Regions from separate parts of the Homo sapiens genome. Here region 2 is linked to region 1. Evidence: promoter capture Hi-C in human tissues and cell types (Jung and others, 2019). All regions are on one chromosome and are shown on one strand. Each heading gives the region's core, a stretch centred on a gene start or on the middle of the fragment in contact. The rest is flanking DNA. Distances are from core to core; before and after follow the strand shown. Region 1 has its middle 40 kb from the start of NGRN. Region 2 holds the start of FES (FES proto-oncogene, tyrosine kinase).

What was found. Contacts are between HindIII fragments. The study calls those that stand out against the background at their distance.
Region 2: the fragment with the promoter of FES here is called in contact with a fragment that was not itself captured in region 1 in 1 of the 25 tissues and cell types used here (lymphoblastoid cells).

What each region holds. Positions count from the first base shown.
Region 1 is chr15:90,303,497-90,307,786 of GRCh38, reverse strand. No RefSeq gene overlaps it. Among named protein-coding and RNA genes, the nearest start is that of NGRN, 40 kb to the right of the region's middle. RefSeq lists enhancers at 1,193-1,242, 4,161-4,210. The HindIII fragment of the contact is 4,498 bases long and covers 1-4,235 here.
Region 2 is chr15:90,882,020-90,886,309 of GRCh38, reverse strand. It overlaps FES (FES proto-oncogene, tyrosine kinase), which reads right to left and starts at 1,806. Exons shown (of 19, transcript NM_002005.4): 1 at 1,766-1,806; 2 at 1,052-1,273; 3 at 725-898. The coding sequence starts at 1,264. It overlaps FURIN (furin, paired basic amino acid cleaving enzyme), which reads right to left. Exons shown (of 16, transcript NM_002569.4): 16 at 2,853-4,290. RefSeq lists enhancers at 661-1,090, 2,628-2,757 and a silencer at 1,721-2,230. The HindIII fragment of the contact is 25,407 bases long and covers 1-4,290 here.

The DNA.
Region 1 (4,290 bases), core at 737-3,236:
AAGGCAAAAAAGTGTGCCATGCACAAGCAGTGCCCCAACTCCATAATCAACCCCTTCTGACATGTGAGGCCACATGGGTGATATGCTGTCTTGAGTCAGATTAGCTACTCTTATCCTGGGGAGAGAAGAATGAAAGGAGGGAAAGCGAGAGAGTACGTGTCCATCCAAGTGTTCCCTAAAATGGTCTGCAAGTCAGATGGGGAGAAGTTCCCTCATCTATGAGCCTGAGATGGGAATATGGGAAAAAGAATAACAGCGTCTACAAAAACGGCAGGCACTGCTCTTGGCCAGGATACTGGATATCTTTGACGAAGATGCATTTTTTTCTTCTGAGCTGTTCTTAGATGGACCCTGTCAGCCTGCTCTGGAACCCCAAAAAGGCAGGAGTAGAATTTGTTCATGCCCTTAGCACAGTGCTTAGCAGACTCTCAATATATATACAGAATACATGCATTTACTTCTCTCTCCTTTTTCTTCTTTCATGGAATCAAACTCTACCTTAAATTGACTATTATTCCTTTAGCTGTGTTATTATCCTCAATCAGATTGTTCAACATGTTCAACAAGTCAGAATGTTCAACATGATGACTTTGCACATCTCTGCTCCATACAATATGTATTGATCTTGTTGTTTAGCTCTTGGAGGACCATCTCATTTTCCCTCTTATACCAAGTTCTTTAGAAGTGCATTTCCCTGTAGCTGTCAAGAGCTTACTCTCTCATTCCCATTCCACAGTCATTTATGAGCGGAGCCAACGTTAAGATCCAAGGTCACGGGAAGAAAATGTTATTGGATAGACTGAACAACCCCTGTTAGACGTTAGCGTTTCACAGAACTCATCAGAGAAACCCAAGTTTTCACCAAACACTGCATTGATTTCCGCCTCCCACAGCAATTGGTTATTTTGCCCAAGAGAGGAAACTGTTTCCATTTCACACATGGTAAAGGACACCTCCTGATAATTTCCCTTTGGGGCCAGGAATTTAATCTTACTACTGGGTTAATGCTTTTACTTGGGTGGCTTTTTAACCTCAATAAGTGAGCTGTACTTCCTCCCACCATCACTTTCATAATTGCTGTGAAAAGAGGCCCTCGTGTGGGTTGCTGCAGAGACAGCCTGGGGAAAGCCGGTGAAGTTAAATGCGCTGCTTGAAAGCAGAGACACCCACTTCTAGCCCCTCCAGCCCGAGCAAGCCGTTAGATTTGGACCCTAGCAGGGACAAGGTCAATTTCTCTTTGCTTTTTTTCTTCCATTTCCTGTTCTTCCACTTCTTCTATTGCCTTCTCACAGCTATTCCAGGCTCTCTCCTTCTTTTTCTCTTCTCTTTTCGTGTTTTCAAACAACAGGATAACTTTCAAAGCCTTTCCTTTCTTTTTTCACTCTACCCACAACCCCTTGGCTGTTCAAATGCCTAAGTTCACCCTTCAGCTAAAGAGACAGTGCAACTTTTATAGTCAAGAATGTAGGCCAAGAAGCCAGACTTCCTGGGGCTGAATCCAATTTGCCAGGGAGACTTATGGAATCTCTCAGGTCCTCGGTTTCTGCATCTGTCAAGTGGGAATGATACTAATAGTTCTTATCCCAGAAGATTATTATGTGAGTCAAATCAGTTCATATGTGTAAAGTGCTTAGAAAGGTTACGTAACAGACTTAAGAGCATTTGCTGAGAAACAACCACCACAACAACACATCACAAGTGGGTAAGGATGAACAGAAAGTGCAAACGGCCTTAGAACAGAGATCATATTCCACCCTTTGTCCCTCTGATTGAGGAGAGGGGATTGCCTGCATCTGTATTTCTTCCCCTAGCATATCCATATATTCTAGAACTCTGGATATGTTCTTTGTGTAAGGTGAACTTAGTTCAGAAATATTTTCTCAGCTTTTACTCTCTTTTTACAGAGTAAGACTTGATCTCTTTTGTGAAGAGCTATTTCTGGCTAGCTTCAAACTACCATTTCAATTAGTGGCCATTGTTTATGCCCATGATGTATAAGCTGAACTGCCCCTGCATTCTTTATTATTTTTTTTGAGATGGAGTCTTGCTCTGTCGCCCAGGCTGAAGTGCAGTGGCACGATCTCGGCTCACTGCAGCCTCCGCCTCCTGGGTTCAAGAGATTCTCCTGCCTCAGCCTACCGAGTAGTTGGGATTATAGGCACCCGACACCAGGCCCAGCTAATTTTTTTTGTATTTTTAGTAGAGACGGGGCTTTGCGACGTTGGCCAGGCTGGTCTCAAACTCACGACCTCATGATCCACCAGCCTTGGCCTCCCAAAGTGCTGGGATTATAGGCGTGAGCCATCGCTCCTGGCCTGCCCCTGCATTCTATAATCCAGTCCCAAGGAAGGGGAGAAAAATGCCAGGAGAGCGTGGGGAAGAAAAAAGCAATCATCGCCCACCCACCAGAAAATCTCCCTGCTCTCATATTTACTCTTTAATGACAGAACTGGATTTATGTACACACTTAGCTAATGACATGTTTACATGTCTTGTCTCCTCTTGATCCTAAGGTAGTGTCTATTCCCTGCCTATGTCTTCTTGGTGCTCAGAACAGTGCTACATTTACCTATGGGTAGAAAATACAATTTGCTGACAAACTATAAACCAATAGAAATAGACCATGTATGAGACTAGTATTAAAGGTTTTAAAAATAGTCTGTTTTAAAAATACAGTCTGTCAAATTTATAAGCTTTAAATGACCAAAATTAAAGGAAAGAGTTAAAGAAAATGAGAGTGGTTTCTATTTTTTGAATCACATTTTCTGCTTTCATTGCCATATGCCTATAAAAGGAATTAGATATATAGTGGGTGTGAAGCACTTATGTAAGTTGTGTATATATATATATATGGTAGATTTATGTGTGTGAGGTATGTGTGTGTGTATTATGTGTGTGAATTAAGCTGTCAAGTCAGCACACACAAGGAGAAAATCATGTACAGAAGTGCTTCAGAAAATTGCGTATTATCACTTGAGGCTCCATACTTAGAAGCCCAAACACTAAGATTTAGCTTCTTTTGTTTCTATTTACATTCTCTCTGTCATCTCATTCTCTTTGGACCCCTGGAGGCTAGAGTCTAGTTTGAAAGGGAGGATACATGCAACAGGGTAAAAAATGTTTTCTTTACTTGTTTGTGCACTAAGATTTATGAAAATTAAATTCTTTAAAAATGCAACTTCACAGTGTGTGTGTATGTCTGTGGTGCGTGTGTATATATATACATTTGTTTGTTTGTTTGTTTGTTTTGTTTTGTTTTGGGATGAGTTTGGCTCTGTTGCCCAGGATGGGGTGCCTTGGTATGATCTCGGCTCATTGCAACCTCTGTCTCCGGGGTTCAAGTGATTCTCCCACCTCAGCCTCTGGAGTAGCTGGGATTACAGGGGCAAACCACCATGCCTGGCTAATTTTTGTATTTTTAGTAGAGGCGGGGTTTTGCCGTGTTGGCCAGGCTGGTCTCGAACTCCTGACCTCAAGTGATCTGTCTGCCTCAGCCCCTCAAAGTGCTGGGATTACAGCCGAGAGCCACCATGCCCGGCCCGTCTGTAGTATATTATAATCTATACACTTTGATTTTTATTATTTCACATAACTTTTACAACAAATCTGTAAAACACATTTTCCATTTACAGATCAGGAAACTAAGAGCATCAAAGTGATTTTCTCAGTGTAGGTGGTACTGGTAGGTTGGAACTGGGGAAGCAAGCTTACAGTTTGATGTTTACCCACTAGCACTACCTCCTTCGAAGCTGATCACAATCATAACAGTGAGAGAAGCTTTGAAACTCCCTTTTACAGCACTGGAAGGGACCTTAATTAAGACCTTTCTATTTACAGGGAAGGGAACTGAAGCCCAGAGATACCAAGAGTTGGCCCAGGTCACACCTTGGCGATTGTGGAAGGACTAAGAGAACAGGCCTGGCTCTGACACCCCGCCCTTTCTCCATCCCACCTCCTGCCGCCCCAGCCAGGAGGCCAGATCTCACAATGCAGTCAGAAAAATCCTTTGCTAAAAAATATTAAGACTAGAATGCTAAGAAGAAACATTAACAGTTCCATAGGAAAATGACAAAAAGCATGCAAAGGTAATTTATGAAGAAACAAATTTTTTTTTAAAGTTTGACTTATGTTGTCAAGTAAGAAATGCAAATTAAAAGAAAAACCATTTTGACTCAGTTGACAATGACTTTTTTTTTTTTTTAACCCATAGGTGTTGTTTCGAGAGGCAGGCCTTGCTGTATGACTGAAACACACTCTTGTAGCTGGTGGAAGTAAAACTATTACACTCTT
Region 2 (4,290 bases), core at 557-3,056, 580 kb before region 1:
ACAGACAATATGAAAACAAAAGGGCATAGCTGTGTTCCAGCAAAACTTTATAAAAATGGGCCCACCCTTGAATCAGATGATCTTTTGGGGCGAGGAATGGGGCCAGGGTGGCCACCAGGGGCCGCTGTGGGTCCATGGCAAGGCTGGGCTCTGCACTTGAGGAAGGGGTGTGGTGCAGGGAGGGTGACCAGCACACTGAATGGGGGCACTAGGCTCCCAGATAAATAGTTCCAAATCACACAGCCTCTAGACTGAGGAGCTGGGTGGGATTCAAACCTAGGCAGGCTGACTTCACGGCCCGAATCCTCGACCTTCGGGGGGCCATGCTGCTGCCCAGTCTCTGGGGCCCTGAGAGGAGGCTGCCTAGGTCGAAGGCAAACAGACTGACCCTCATTCCTCTCCCTGACTCTCAGAACCCAGAGCCAGATGGCACAGTGTGGAGGCGAGTACCGATTCTGAGCTTCTCCCAGGCACGTGACCGGTCACTCATCCTTACACTCCCAGCACTTTGCCCAGGCACAGAAAAAGCACAGAGAGGCCTTGCTGCAAGCCAGCTCAACGTAGGGGAAGGAAGAGAGGAAGCTGCATCAAGGTTAGAGCAAGCCAGGCCTGCGGTCAGGGACTTACACTTCCCCAGTGAATCCAGGGCCTCTTGTGCAAAACAACCCCTTCGAGGCTCAAAATTTAGACAGAAATGACCGAAGCCCCAGTGCTGCCCGCTCACCTTGGTGAGCTCCTGCTGCAGCTGCTGCCACTGCTCGCTGTAGGTCTTGCGAAGCTGCTGCCGTTCCCGGATGAGCAGGCTCAGCTTGCTCAGGGGCCCTGAGTTCAGATCCTCTGCGTGCTGCCGCAGCAAGCGGCTCAGGCCCTCAGTTTGGCTGGTGATCTCAGCCCAGGACTATACAGCACAGATGGGGGAGGCAGGGAGGGGGGCACAATGGCTCCCAAGCATTGGCCTGCCAGATCTCCAGCCACTGCCCCAGAGGGCCCCCAGGAGAGGAAGGAGAAGGCAGATACAGCCAGCACCCACCAGAGTCCCATAGAGACCCACCTGACTGATGGGGCTGTCAGGGCTGATGGCCCGGCTCTGGCCCCCACTGTCCTGCAGGGACATGTGGTGAAGCAGTCCTGCATACTCCCTGTCACTCTTGACCCGCTGGGCCATCCACTTTCTCATGCCCTCCAGTAGACGAAGCTCGGCCTCCTGCATTTGCTGCAGGACCCCGTGGCCCTGGGGGCTGCACAGCTCGGAAGAGAAGCCCATAGTGCTGTTCTGGGGACAGAAAAGGGGCCATCCCTGGAGGCAAGGCAGCAGCTGGAGACGGAGGCATGGGACGAGGAGACTGGGGACTGTAGGGTCAGGATGGACTGCAGACGGGGAGGAGGTGGGGTCCTGCCTCGCTCACACGCAGCCATGGGTACCCAGCAGCAGCCTGGCCTGGGGACTGGCCCTCATTGCTTCCTTAGCGTCAGGGTCTCCTCCGCACGTTCGGGAACAGGAGCCAACCTGGAGCCTCCCTCCCCAGGCCCTTCCACCCACCACCCCTTACAGGGACACCCTTGCCCAGGTCCTCGACAGGCCAAGCCTGCCCCAGCTGAAGCCTCAGGCGCCCACAGCCTGAGCCCTGCCCCTGCGGCCATCCCCGCCCTTCCGCGGCCCCTACCCCCACCTGGGTGGGTCTCTGGCCCTCGGAACGCCTGCTCTGCCCCTGCCTGCCGCGCCCCCAGCTCCCACCGCTCCTCCAGGCCCCGGGGCTAGAGGTACCCGCACGGGCAGCTGCTCCTGGGACGGCCTCGGACCGACTCAGGCCCGGTGCGGACCCCGGCCAGTTCCTGATTCCGCGCTTCCTCCTCCCGCGGTTTCAGTTGGCCCAGGCCCCGGGGCGGGCCTGTGGAGGGGAAGGGGCGGGCGGGACCGGCCCGACCGCCCCGACGCCTGCCAGCCCCCCTGCTCCGCGCTGGGCCGCAGCCTCTAGCCGGCCGCACGGCCACGGAAACGGAAGGGAGGAGGGGGCCGGGAAAGAATGGCCCAGCCAAGAGCCGCCCGCGCCCCGCAGGCCCCAGGGCCCGGCAGCGCCCCGGGAACACCGGGAAGGGGCGCAAGGTGGGGGTCAGGAGGGGGAGCCCAGGGCGAGGCCCCAGGCAGATGCTGGGCCCAGGGAAGCCCAGGGTGTCCGCGGGTACTGAGGGGAGGCGCGCAGTCCTAGCACCAGGCCAGGGCCACCGCAGAAGAGAAAGAGGGAACCCTGGTCCCAGCCCTCCCCACCTCACGGAATTCCCTAAGGAGAGGCTCAGGCGCCAGCTTCCATTTGAATAAAATTTCCAAGTAAATATCCCGAACAGAGACTGCTTCTCGGATACAGATCCTAGTGGTTTTGTCCCCATCCTCCTACCCCCAGGCAGGGGCTTCCTGTCCCAAGGGAGACCTGGGGAAATCAAGGGGCAGGGGTTGGGGAGCGGACAGGCGTGGAGTTTTCCATTTGGGACTCAGGCTCCCCACAAGAAGTCATCTTGATTCAGTCAGGCCTCCCTCCACCTTAGGCCTCAGCCCTATAGCCTGTGGCGACCAGATCACTTCAGCCCAGGAAGACACAATAGGCCCAGTTCTTCACACTGCTGGAAACCAGGACTTTGGGAGTTTAGTGCTCAGCTCCTGAGGACCAGGGGTCACCAGCCCCACCCCAGGGGCACCAGCTCCTCCACTAGGGGCTGGCGCATCCTCCCGCCCCTTGGAGGACTTTGGCCTTCTGACTTGGGCCCACATCCAGGCAGGCAGGCCACTGTGTAGGCCTAACTGGCCCCCTATCCTCAGCTGCGATGCAGGAGCAACGGTACCACACTGGAGACTGGGCCTGGTTTGCATAGTCTGCACGTTTAATCACTTTAAAACCTCTAACATTATCTCATGTCCATTAAATAGAACCAGCAATGCTGGGCCTGTTTAAATTACAAGAAAAAAATCACTGTGCACCAACCCAGCATCTTACAAAACCAGCCGGGCTGGCCACGAGGGCAGGGGGATGGGAGAGGAGGGGGCACCCCTGGGCAGATGGCTGGGTACCAGGAATGGCTAGGGTAGAAAAGAAAAGGGGACTCCCAGATGGGAGGGGACTGATTGTCCTAATGGGAGGGGTGCAAAAGGCACGTCAGAAGAGGAGGTTTGAGGGGGGCATGACAGGTCAGTGCTTTCTCCACCAGGGCACAGTGTTGGGGGGGCTCAGTGCCACCACCTGCCCACCTCTGGCACTTGGAGAGCCAGTGACCTATGAACCCCCGGCATGGCGAGCCCCACTTGAAACACAGATGTCAGCCTGCCCCTCCCACTGGGACCCCCTTTCCTTGAGCCCGCCTGGCTGGCCCGCCTCTTCAGGACTTGGGGCTCAACTATTCCTCACTCCTCAGCAACATGCTGCAGCCCCCACACCTCAGGGCCAGGGCAGCCAGGGAGGAGCAGGGCGGACGGTGGGTGTGAGAACGTGGGTAGTCCAGCTGCTACCCCCATTAAAAATACAAAAACAAATCATCAGCATCTAAAGTGAAATAATCACAAAGTGAAAATATATCCTCAAACAGCCCCTGAGATCCCCACAGGGGAAAGCAGCATCGGGTGGGAGGCCAGAGAGGCCGGCTGGGCCAGCGCCCCTCCCCACCACCCACCCAGGGGCTCCAGGTCTGTGAGTGCCAACAGCCCAGGCAGCCCGGGCTCAGAAAACAGGGACTTGGGCCCTGACGGGAGAGGCGGGTGCAAGAGAGGGGAGGGTGGTCAGGACACCAGCACAGGGTTCAGCCAGAGCTTCGGCCTTGGCTGCGCCAGCCTGGTGGCCAGTGGTGGTGGAGGCACGGAGCACAGGGGTGGGTCATGGGACACAGGCCACAGGCCACATGCCACGTGCACACCTGGAGGCACCTGCCTTGCCTTGGTCCCTTCCTATGATGGCTGCTGCCGCCAAGACTCACCAGAGCTGGGGGACAGGGTGGAGGGTGCAGAAGCCCTTGGAGAGGTGGCCTCCTCCCTCAGATATCTCCTAGGCCAGCCCCCGACTGCCTGGATGGGACCATTATTGCTTTAGAGGGACAGGGAAGGGCAAGAGCTGCGGCCTGGGTCAGGAATCCCAACAAGCAAGGGCTGCCCCTCTTCACTCCGCAGGAACTCTGGCTGGGGCCGGGGCCGGGGCAAGCTGCCCTAAAGGTTTCACTCCTTTCTCCACATGGAAGGGGTGCTGAGGGTGGGGTACGGCCCTCCCCACGCCCCAGCTGGTCCTGGGCCCACCTCAGGTGGCCAGGTGGGCC